Regions from separate parts of the Homo sapiens genome. Here region 1 is linked to region 2. Evidence: promoter capture Hi-C in human tissues and cell types (Jung and others, 2019). All regions are on one chromosome and are shown on one strand. Each heading gives the region's core, a stretch centred on a gene start or on the middle of the fragment in contact. The rest is flanking DNA. Distances are from core to core; before and after follow the strand shown.

Region 1 (5,847 bases), core at 2,441-4,940, 320 kb after region 2:
AAACTGATGCTTATGTGTGGATAAATGATTTGTTCAAGACCACACAGCTAAAAAGTGCCAGAATCTAGGATGCTAGTCCGGGCATATCAGACCTGAATTTCTATACTCTTAAATTATATGCCACAGCCCTCAGAAATATGCCTGTCTCCTCTGGATTAGGGGCATCCCCTATGCCTAAGAGTCACTATAATTACTTGTGCCCTAAAACTCTCTAGCCTTGTTGCTGTTCAATATGCTATGAAATCCTCTATTCATATATGACTATGAGCACTTGAGATGTGGCTAGTATGAATAGAAATGTGCTCTATGTGTAATTACACATATGAGATTTCAAAGATGTAGTCCAAAAAAGGTAAACTCTCTCATAAATAATTTTTACATTGATTACATGTCAACATGATCATGTTTTGGATATATTGCATTCAATAAAACACATTATTGGTTGGGTGTGGTGGCTCATGCCTGTAATCCCAGCATTTTGGGAGACCGAGGCAGGCGGATCACGAGGTCAGGAGTTCGAGACCAGCCTGACCAACATGGTGAAACCCCGTCTCTACTAAAAATACAAAAATTAGCTGGGTGTGGTGGTGTGCGCCTGTAATCTCGGTTACTCAGGAGGCTGAGGCAGGAGAATTGCTTGAACCCGGGAGGTGGAGTTGCAGTGAGCTGAGATCACACCACTGCACTCCAGCCTGGGCAACTGAGTGAGACTCCGTCTCAAAACAAAACGAAACAAAAATATATTATTACAATTAATTTAACCTTTTTCTGATTCCTACATATTCTATTTTGCATTTGGGCCTTTCCTCCCAAATACATGAGAAAAGAAAATACATCTCCTGATGCTTTCCTTACTGTTGCTCCAGGAAAAACACACCATATGAGAGACATAAATGCTTGCTACAGAGGCCTAATCTAGGCCATGCTTGGGACAAACTCGATGCTGTAGTCACCCTCCTGAGGCTTACTTTCTCCTGGGCATCTAAACTTAAACAATTCCATCCCTCCCTAGCTCTACCCCCTCTGTGAGGCTCTTGTGAGAATGATAATATTACATAAACTGTAGGTGCTCAAACAGTGTTTATTGAATGACTGATGACAGAGGAAACAGTTCTATGTCATTTTATAGATAGCAAAAATAGAGAGGAACTTGGAGTTTTAAGGGAAAGATCCACATTACTGCTCTTCTGCTTCCTCTAGCTCCAGTGATGGTGTTGGCAGTATGTTTGGTGGAGGTGGTGCTGGTGGTGGCGAGGCAGTGGCAGAATCTCTGCTTTCTTTGGTGTTACTCTTGGTAGAAGTAGCAGTGTATGTGATCTGTCCTGGGGTCATAGTGCTGATGGTGGCAGAGTTCATAGGGGTGGCATTTGGAATGATGACAAAGTTGGTATTAGCAAAAAAGCTAGTGCTTTTGATTTGGGGGAGAACAGATAAAATATGTTTTCTTTGTATCACAGCACTAGAATTCTTGGCAGGTTTTAGCATTTCTTGGACGTCTTCATTAAGTACATTTGGTGTTCCATATTGCAGGTAGTTTTTAATCAATTTAACCACTTTTGGTCCAACACAACATTTTTTCATCTTGCATTTCTGTATCTCTTTTTCATCCACATTGCAGTGATCCCTGCATCTCCCCAAACCCATTAAACAGCGTCTCAAGCCAATAAATTCTGTATAAAAAAAGAGAAAGCCATTGAGCCAAGGTTAATAACTAGAGATGATGTTAAAACTGCTAGTGGGAGATGGATAGACTAAGAGAGAGTTTACTCATACTACATTTTAAGCCCAGTGTTTAGGAATGTTGATGAAGGCAAATGGGCAGGCTGAGAGCGTCTCTATGCCCCTCTTGAATCCAAAGTAAATTTCCTGTTTAGTCTGCCTTCCTTGAGTAACTTTAAGAAGCAAAGGGCACGTAGATGATAGAGTAATTATTTGCTTTTAGGATGGAATTTTAGACCTTCAACTTAGCATCTTAGGTACTTGTCAGACATCACTATCCCATCTCCATAATCTTGGGAAATACCAATGAGAGCCAAGTCCATCATAAAACTAATTTAAGAAAGAAGTTCAAAAGAGAATCAATAGAATTTTCAGGAGTCTTATCTTTTCACCAAACTCAGTAGCCCATGACTTCTCTCTTCTCAACAATCACTAGATCTGTGATTCCTGAAGCATGGTGTTCTATCTCTTCTAGCCTCTTTGGACACTCTATCTCTCAGAAGTCTCATTCATTATCCTAGCCTTAACCTCATATCCACCAAGGTAACTTCTGTATTGTTATCTATAATTCTAAATTTCCTGCTCGGCTTAGTACCTTATCTTTATCTGCTGAATGACTTTTCCATCCTAATGTCTCGTGTTTCTTTTTTCTGAATCAAGAAAGCTTTTCTCCCTTGTTCATCTTAATAACCCAATGATTTTCCCTAAATTACAAGAGATTTATGTAGCATCTGCTAATTTTCAAAGCATATTTGCATACATTTCCACATTGTTTTCTCATCAAACGGGAAACAGAAAAATTCTTATATTGGAATCAGCTGCATTGATTAACCCCATTATACTCATGTGAAATTGAAGTTCAAAGTGGTTAAGTGACTTTACCCAAGATGACACAGCCATACTTGCTTATGGTACTACCCTTTTCCTAGGGTCCCAAGATAAAAACATTAGAAGATAAAAACATTAGAAGCATCTTTGACACTTCCACTTTCCCTGCCCCGAAACCCTTTGCTAATTTTTTCAAATAGCTGGATGATTCTTGTATTCTGAAACAAATCTCAGTGCTTCTCCTTTCTTTTCCAAAAACAATGGTTAATCCCCTGGCTTAGCCTTTTGCTATAATGCATTCCTAGATGCCCTTATGGTAGTTTGGGGGTTTTCAGGAAGACAAAGTCTGAGAGAAGCGATAAAGGCTCTGGAAAACCTGAAAGAATTCAAGATGGAGAACACAGGCCTGTTTACTTGATCTTGAAAGGGTTTTTTTTTGAGCATGAGGGAAGAACTTCCTCCTTTCTACACCAAGCACAAACTGATAGGAAACTTTGCTTCAAGAGGTGGTTTCACAGGAAGGGGAACAACACACACTGGGGCCTGTTGGGTGGAGGGAGAGCATCAGGAAAAATAGCTAATGCATCCTGGGCTTAATACCTGGGCGATGGGTTGGTAGGTGCAGCAAATAACCATGACACACATTTACCTATGTAACAAACCGCACATCCTGCACAAGTACCCCAGGACTTTTTTTAAAAAAAAAGGGCTTTTAAGATAGAAATAGAGCTAAAAGGAGGTAGACCTGGGCTTAGTCTTAGCATGATAGACATATACAGGGCAGGAAGGCAGCATTATATTTTGGATAGTTTCTGAATAGACAAAAAATACCCTGCTTTCTCTGTAGCTTCCTGGGTGTTTCCACTGGACACAATCTGGCAGTTGGGGCCTATGAGAATGTATCAGTGCATGACTGATACAATAGGTAAGCTCTTTAGCCATCTTTTTGAACAGCTAATCTTTCAGTCTCCTCTCTTTGGGTTTCCATTGTCATGGGCAGCCAAATCCTTGGTTCCTCTCATCTACCCATCTTAAACTTGGGAATCCACATTACCTGTGTTCACCTGGTACTGTAGCATGAGGCTGGCAAAGATAGGAAAAAGGAGCTTCATGGTTGGGTGCCAGAGAGGAAGCCTTGAATCTGGGTTGATGCTCCTGAGCTCCAGCCTTTATTGGCCTCTTCGTGGCCTTATGCCATGAGCAGTGAAGTGCAGCCAAAGCAGGTTTGTATGCTGCTCGCAGTATAGTTGTGTTTTTTCTGACTCTGTTTGAAAACACCCTTTCTTGAACACCTCTATGCAACAAATTCCTTGCTCTTGATCCTGGAGGAAAACATAAGATAGGTAAGATGAGAAAGAAAGAGCAAGCCCTTTGCATGTGTCTCTCTTTTGCTTTTTTGAGATGGAGTCTCACTCTGTTGCCCAGGCTGGAGTGCAGTGGCGTGATCTCGACTCACTGCAACCTCCGCCTCCCAGGTTCAGGCAATCCTCCTGCCTCAGCCTCCCAAGTAGAGTATCTGGGACTACAGGCATGCACCACCATGCCCAGCTAACTTTTGTATTTTCAGTAGAGACGGGGTTTCACCATGTTGGCCAGGCTGGTCTCAAACTCCTGACCTCAAGTGATCCGCCCACCTTGGCCTCCCAAAGTGCTGGGGTTCCAGGCATGAGCCACCGCACCCAGTCGCATGTCTCTTTCTTAACGTTGGAGTAGGATAAGAGTTAGATATTTGATTCACTGATTGTCAGCCCAGTTATGCTAAGGTTGGCACTTAGTGCATGAGAATTAGAAGAGCTAGAGGAGAGTGAAGATTCTGCCTTGTTTGTACTGGTATGTCCAGTGGCCAGCATGGGTATTGGATCAACATACAAAGTCAGTACGTTTGTTAAACAAGTTCGTGGGAGACAGCTCTTGGCACATCTTTAACTTTTGAGTTTACAATGATTCCCACATCCTTTTAAAGTAGCAACTAAAAAAAAACTTTTTTAACTTCGCGGGTATATGTGCAGGATGTGCTGGTTTGTTACATAGGTAATGTGTGTCATGGGGGTTGGTTGTATAGATTATTTCATCACCCAGCTATTAAGCCTAGTGTCCATTAGTTATTTTTCCTCATCCTCTCCCTCCTCCCACCTTCCACTCTCCAGTAAGCTCCAGTGTGTGTTGTTCCCCTCTGTGTGTCCATGTGTTCTCATCATTTTGCTCCCACCTATAAGTGAGAACATGCAGTATTTGGTTTTCTGTTTCTGCCTTCATTTGCTAAGGATAATGGCCTCCAGCTCCATCCATGTCCCTGCAAAGGACACGATCTCATTCTTTTTTATGGCTGCATAGTATTCCGTGGTATATATGTACCACATTTTCTTTATCCATTCTTTATCCAAATGGCCAAATGATGGGCATTTGGGTTGATTCTATGTCTTTGTTATTGTGAATAGCGCTGCAGTGAACATATGCATGCATGTGTCTTTATAATAGAACCATTTATATTCCTTTGGGCATATACCCAGTAATAGGATTGCTAGGTCAAATGGTATTTCTGACTTTAGGTTTTTGAGGGATTGCCACACTATCTTCCACAATGGTTGAAATAATTAAAAGCAGCAATTTTTATAGTGTACTGCTCAGATTCCTTGGTCGTAGCTGATTGATCCAGGTGTAACAATAGAACCAAGCCTACCAATCAGATGCTTTCCCCTGCTAATTTGGGACATTTCCTAAGAAACTCAGATATTGAAGCTCATTGGCTCTGAATATTATTAATTGTTCAAGTTTCAAGAGTTTCCCTGGTTCCTCGCCTTCCTGAAATTCATGTCTTCTTAGGATTTCATTAGCTACTATAGTATCCAATGACTCCTCAGTTTTGTTTAAATTAACTGTTATTTTTTAAAACAATAAAAGCAAATCTTATGAACTTTCACTTTATGAAATGTATATTTTACTTCTATGAACAAAAATAATCAAGCTTAGGCATATTTACTTACTACTTGTCAATATCAAGAGATGGAATTAACAGCCCTTTGGAATCAGTTAATCCTGAATATCGCATATTAATTGGTTTCTGGTGTTTTAAGATGCATTGAAATAACATTATTCACCTCATTGTGTCTTGCTAGTCCCAAAGCAATAAGAATATGGAAAGTACTGGTACAAAGAGAAGCACAGTTATTATGGAACAAAAAGTTGAGTTAATAAGAATTGGAAAGTTATGAAAAATTAAGTATGTTGCATGTATATATGGAATGAATCTATCAACAGTGTAGCATAATTTTGTAAAAAGACAAATTATTCACATGTGCA
Region 2 (6,086 bases), core at 2,805-5,304:
TGGCATCATTGGACTCCACCCTGGGCAACAAGAGTGAAACTCCATCTCAGAAAAAAAAAAGACACACATCTCCTAATTATTTAAATGTGCTTTTTAAATGTTTTCTGATCAAACTACTGTTTGTCTCTTGCTTTGTATCGTATAACAGAATGTCAGGGCCAGATTTCTATGTCAGGACATAATACTGTCTTCATTCTTTTCAATGGCTTTGTCACTTGCTGTGTGACATTGGACTAGTTGTTTAACCTCTCTGAGACTTGGTGTTCTTAATCTCTAAAATGGGGATTAAAAATGTACTGGCCACAGAGAGCTGTTGTGAGGATTAAATGAGTTAATAGATGTAAAGCATCTTGTACAGTGTCTGACACATATTAAGTGCTCAAAAATGTTAGTTCTCATTGCTGTGAATAGCCCCATGTCTGGCTGTACCATAATTTCTTTAACCAGTTCCATGCCTACGATTACTTATGTGATATAATGTTTGCAAAGGTGGCCACAACAATTCCACCCTCCTTATACACATGACTCCTTGCAGTATGATTTGATGTTTTTCTCATGAAGAGATGGAATCTATTTCTACTCTCCTTGAATCTGAGCTGGCCATATGACTGCCTTTGATCGATATAATACAGTGAAAATGATGCTATATCATTTCTAAGCCTAGATCTGAAGAGATCTTGCTGCTTTTGTTTTCTTTCTTCTGGGGGCCGTCATGTAAGTAAGCCTGAGTTAGCTTACTGAAGAAGCAACATGGAGGAGAACCAAGGCACTCAAGCCAACAACCCCAACCAACTGCCAGACATGTGAATGAGGCCATGGAGTTCTAACCAGTTTGCTGGCCTGTTCACTGACAGCAAACGTAAGAGTAAGCCAGGAAAGACCACTTGGAGCAGAAAAGAGCTGTCCTGGCTGAGACATGTCCAAACTGCCAATCCACACAAACATAAAATATTGTTGTTTTAAGCCACTATATTGTGGGGTGATTTTGTTAAGCAGCAATAGAAAGCAAATACACTTAGGTTCTTAGTGCATGATTAAAACTTTTGCCTGTAATTCTAGCACTTTGGGAGGCCAAGGCAGGGGAACTGCTTGAGCCTAGGAGTTCAAGACCAGCCCTGGCAACATAGCAAGACCCCATCTGTACAATAATAATAATAGTAATAATAATACTACTAAATTAAAAATGAGCCAGGCATGGTGGTGCATGTCTGTAGTCCTAGCTACTCAGGAGGCTAAGGTGGGAGGATCGCTTAAGCACAGGAGTTCAAGGTTATAATGAGCTGTGATCATGCCACTGCACTCCAGCCTGGACAACAGAGCAAGATCCTGTCTCAAAAGAGAGAGAGAGAGAGAGAGTCACTCTAATGGCCCAGGTTGAAATGCAAGCTCCATCTCCGGCATGTGACCTTGGGCATGGCCTGTGATCTCTGTGAACCTGAGTCTCCTCATCTGTACGGTGAGATACTTTTGGTTTCTACCTCATCAGGTTGACATGAGGATTAAGTGAGATGATGAACATTCAGTGTGTGGCACAGTGCAAGTACTCTCAACATCTTAACTCTTGCTTCTGCTGCTGTTGTTTGCAGAAAGACTAGCCTGAGAGGTGTGATGTGGGGGATCAGAGACAGTAAGAGTTAAGGATAAATGTTAAGTCTACAACTAGGTGAACACTTGGGATGGGAAGCCTCTTGAGACCGGAGACCTACATGAGGCTGGCGTAGTAGACGGCAGGAGTTGGGTTTCAATTATGTCCTGCATGAGTATGAGGGTTGTATATGTGTGCCCAGGTGAGCCCTCTGAATGAAGTCATGGATAGAGGCCAGAACTAGGAAGAAGAATGAAGAACTAATGCTGTGAGAGAGGCTGAGATTGGAAAGGCATGAAGGCTAAGCAATGGGAAATATCCTCACTACACTCAGATGAAAACCCAGCTTCCTTATCATGACCTGAATGCCCTGCCCACCTCTCCCACCATATTTCTTCCTCTTCTTCCCTTTATTTGCAGTGCTTCAGCCACCATGGCCTCCTTCTTCAAACTTGTGATGCTCTTTCCTGCCTTGGGACGTTTGCACTTACTGTTTCCTTCTCAAAGGGACCTTCTGAACCACTCAAGCTAAAGCTCTATACTTCACAGCTACTTATCTTTTCCTTTCGTAGCACTTATTGCTACCTGAAATTACTTTGTTTATGCATTTGTTTACCTGTGCATTACTTGCTTCTCACTTTAGAAGGTAAGCTCCACCAGTGAGCAACTGGTGTATGTCTTCCTCATAACACATCCCCAGTACCTAGCACAGTGTCTGGCTCATAGCAAATGATGAATTGTTGTGAGTTAAACAAATGTGAATACAGTTGGGAAAAACAAAGCCACAAGAGCCAAAAAGATACGTTCGAGAGGTAGGTAGAAGGGTATCATTTCCTGGAAGATGGCTTCCCAGAAACTTTGGGATTATCTTGTATAACCTCCTCAGTCCACAAGTGGGGAAATTGAGGCCCAGTTACAGGACACTGAGAGAAAAACTGTTGTGGGTTCCCAGGCAATTGGGATCAGATGTCACAAGCTGTCTAGCAGATGAGGTCCAGAGAAGGCCACAGCCACCTCCCTGAGGCCATCACTATAAGTCTGCAGCCACCACCAGCCCTAACCCCACATGGGGAAGAGGTGCCTCTTTGGGAGCAGAGGTGCTAGTCAGCTGACAAACTGTGAAGGCAGGGCTGTGGAGGGTGGAGAGGCCCATTCCTGAGACAACCAGCTATTCTGAGACAGTTAGGGATAATGGTTGGTACTGAAAGAACCTGGCCTCCTCACCCTCGTTCCAGTGCTCACACCTCTGTCCCACCAGAGGTGAGACTAATACTTGAACTCCTTTCAGCAACTCTTAGACGCTTCAGCTTTTATCAGGGCCTGCAAAGGAGAGGTTGATCATCAGATGGAGCCCTGTCCACTGGGGGCTCCCAGTCTGATGGAGGAGACAGACTGAGGTCCTCAGGTTACTGACTGATAGTGTCTGGGTTGGAGGGAGTTAAACAGAGAGGAGACCCCTAGAGGAAAGGATCCCTGAATTAGTTCAATCGGCATACAGAAATTATCCAGTCCATGAGGTGACAGTAAGAGAAGTAACTGCCAGTGTAAAGGGAGGGAGGCAACACAGCTAAGTTCCAGGAATTGTTTGCAGTCTTGTGGGTGGAATCTTCCGGAATTTGAGAAGAGAGTGGCAGAATAGGAGGCTGGAAAGGAGGGTTTGGCCAAATTATGGAGGACTCTGAATGTCAAGTGAAGAGTTTGGGCTATCTTTGGTGCATAAAGAGGTCCATGGGAGATTTTTGACCATAGGGAGACCATGATGAGCTCTGCATGGTAGAAAGTGCTTTGTGGCTGTTTTGGGGAGGTAGCTCGGGCAAGGAGAGCAGGGGTGGGAGGCAGATAGAAGGAAAAAAAAACACTGTATTTTGGACGCACAGCTCTTGGCAGGACTCCTGTAGGAGGAAGGAATTGGGCCTTGGTCTCTTGAGAGCTAGTATCCTCACTTCTCAGACTCCTGCGCCATGCCCTTCCTAGGGTCCAACTTTCATTCACTTCTTCCGAACTCCAAGTTTGAATAGAAAGTGTTGCTGAAACCCTAATTTAAAACGAGGGGTCAGAGCAAAAGAGACTTCAGCTCCCAGAATGCTTGGCTCTACAGCTCTGCAGGTCGCGCATGGTTCTTTTCAAGAAAGGGGGGCCAGCTGGGTGAAGTGTGGGAAACCTGGGTACCGCCATCTTAACTTGGGTCAAACCAACTGTTCACCTAATGGGAGGTTCGTGTTCTCTCTGTTGTCACTTGTTAACACTATTGAAATAAAATGCGCTTAACTATTGCAAGTCTCCTTATTCTGCTTTGCGTTGGGGATTCCTTCCATTTTGCACCCTAGGCCAGAACTGAATCCCTAAGGTTACAATAGGACATCCCAGCATGGCCGCATTCAGAGAGATTCCTCTGGGGGCGGAGTCGGAAGCTGTCTCGCCCCGCCTCCTGGTAGGAGGGGGTTTCCGCTTCCGGCAGCAGCGGCTGCAGCCTCGCTCTGGTCCCTGCGGCTGGCGGCCGAGCCGTGTGTCTCCTCCTCCATCGCCGCCATATTGTCTGTGTGAGCAGAGGGGAGAGCGGCCGCCGCCGCTGCCGCTTCCACCACAGGTACCTAGGGAGCAGCCAGGCGAGGTCGTTGGCGGGTGGGGTGGGCCCAGGATAGGGCAGCGGAGCGCGGCCGACCCTCACGCTTCCAGCAGACTCCTGAGCGGCCCGTCGCCTTCCCCTGCCCCCACCTTCACACATAAACCAAGCGAGGCCCCTGCAGCCCATCGGGGAGGCCCAGGGGCCACCCCTCAGGGCGGAGGGCGAGGTTTGGGGGCAGAGGCCGATGTGAGGGTGGGAACCGGCTGCCGGAGTCCAGCTTATTGCAGAGGAGAGGACTGAACTGGGTGGGGACTAGGGGACAACTTGGAGGAGGGGGTCGTCAGAGGGGGAAGGGAACTTGAGGGGTGGGGCCGCAGGGGGGTGCTGGGGGAGGGTGCGGAGGGAGTGGTGCCTGCTGGGTAGTGTGCAGTGAACCCTCCCGCGAAACTGGGCAGCTGGAGTAGGGGCCTTCTTAGGGTCCCTCTGGGCGGGGCTGAGCTTCCCACCTGCAGAGTGGGTGCGAGGTGGAGAGAACCCCAGGCGGGGTTGCTGGGGCGAAAGGGGGAAGGGACCAAGACGTGGGGCAGAACGTCTGGAGTTGGAGTTAAGGACTAGTTAGGAGCCTGGATAGAAAAAGAGGTATGGAGAGAAAGCTTGGCTAAGGGTATACATATGTTGGTGACCTTTTGAAAGAGTAGGACTTTTCAATTTTGTTTTTCGTTGTGTGTTTTTTGCAGTGTTGGAACATTGCTAGATTAAGCAGGTGATGGGTGGAGCTTCTGTAGTTTGTTTTGGGGAAGCAGAGTCAGGGTCAGGAGAAGTTGCATCTTGGCTATTGCTTTGTGTGGAGGAAAGAGTTTTGAAAAGAAGGTGGCAAATTATTTGGGAAGACTTGATTACTTTTCAGCTGTTTAATTCTACGAGAATGGGACATGGGGAGAGGAAATGAAAACTAAGAAGAGAGGCCGGGCGTGTGGCTCACGCCTGTAATCCCAGCACTCTGGGAGGCCGAGGCGGGTGGATCACGAGGTCAGGAGTTCGAGACCAGCCTGACCAACACGGTGAAACCCCGTCTGTACTAAAAATGCAAATATCAGCCGGGCTTGGTGGCGCGCGCCTGTAATCCCAGCTACTCGGGAGGCTAAGGCAGGAGAATCGCTTGAACCTGGGAGGCGGAGGTGGCAGTGAGCTGAGATCCGCCACTGCACTCCAGCCTGGGCGACAGAGCGAGACTCCGCCTCAAAAAGAAAAAAGAAAACTAAGAAGGGAAGATTTTTCCAAGAATTGGAGACTTCATTCCATCTGAGGAGTGCAGTGTAGGCCCAGTGGTTAAAAACCAGACTGCCTAGGTTCTCAAATATCAGGGCCATTGCTACTTAGCTGTGTGACCTAAACTCTCTAAGCCTCAGTTTTCCCGTCTGTAAAAGGGGGATGATGGTATTTTCTAGCTTGTGAGTTTACGGAGAAGAGTAAATAAGACAATTTGTGTCAAGTGCTTACTACAGTGTCTGGCAGGTAGTAAGTGTAGTAAGTAGCTTTTACCTGTCACTGTAAAGGGACTAGCTGGTATATTTGGGGCTCTTCTGTTCTAAGTAAAATTTATAGTCAAGAATTTGACTGTAGACAGGGCTTTAGAGTAGTATCTTTGTAGTTGTTGTAGGGTTTTGTTGTAAGTCATTTGGCTTTACTGGCTTGGTGGACCTGGGGCTGAAAGTCCAGTACCAATACTAGTTCTCCTCCGTGGTATTCTCAAAAGTTCACCTGCAGTCTTAGCAGGGCATGTTTTTGTCCTTCTGTGACTTTGAAATACTTGGCTTTGGTTTGCTATTGCGGGAGGGTGTATGACTTGAAGAAAGAATGCAAGATTGGAAATTTGCTTAGATTGATTAATCAACTGATTATACAGTTAGGTCCCCGTGAGGTGACTTTTCTTTA

What was found. The method cuts DNA at HindIII sites, captures the fragments that hold promoters and counts their contacts. A contact is called where the count stands out against the background at its distance.
Region 1: the fragment with the promoter of DEFB129 here is called in contact with the fragment with the promoter of CSNK2A1 in region 2 in 2 of the 25 tissues and cell types used here (IMR-90 fibroblasts and lymphoblastoid cells).

What each region holds. Positions count from the first base shown.
Region 1 is chr20:225,101-230,947 of GRCh38, reverse strand. DEFB129 (defensin beta 129) reads right to left here and starts at 3,690. Exons shown (of 2, transcript NM_080831.4): 1 at 3,602-3,690; 2 at 1,062-1,670. The coding sequence starts at 3,659. The coding sequence ends at 1,177. The HindIII fragment of the contact is 8,784 bases long and covers 1-5,847 here.
Region 2 is chr20:541,758-547,843 of GRCh38, reverse strand. It overlaps CSNK2A1 (casein kinase 2 alpha 1), which reads left to right and starts at 4,054. Exons shown (of 14, transcript NM_177559.3): 1 at 4,054-4,172. RefSeq lists enhancers at 3,589-3,648, 3,759-3,808, 3,919-3,998, 4,019-4,168, 3,654-4,347 and 1 more and a silencer at 4,489-4,548. The HindIII fragment of the contact is 15,109 bases long and covers 1-6,086 here.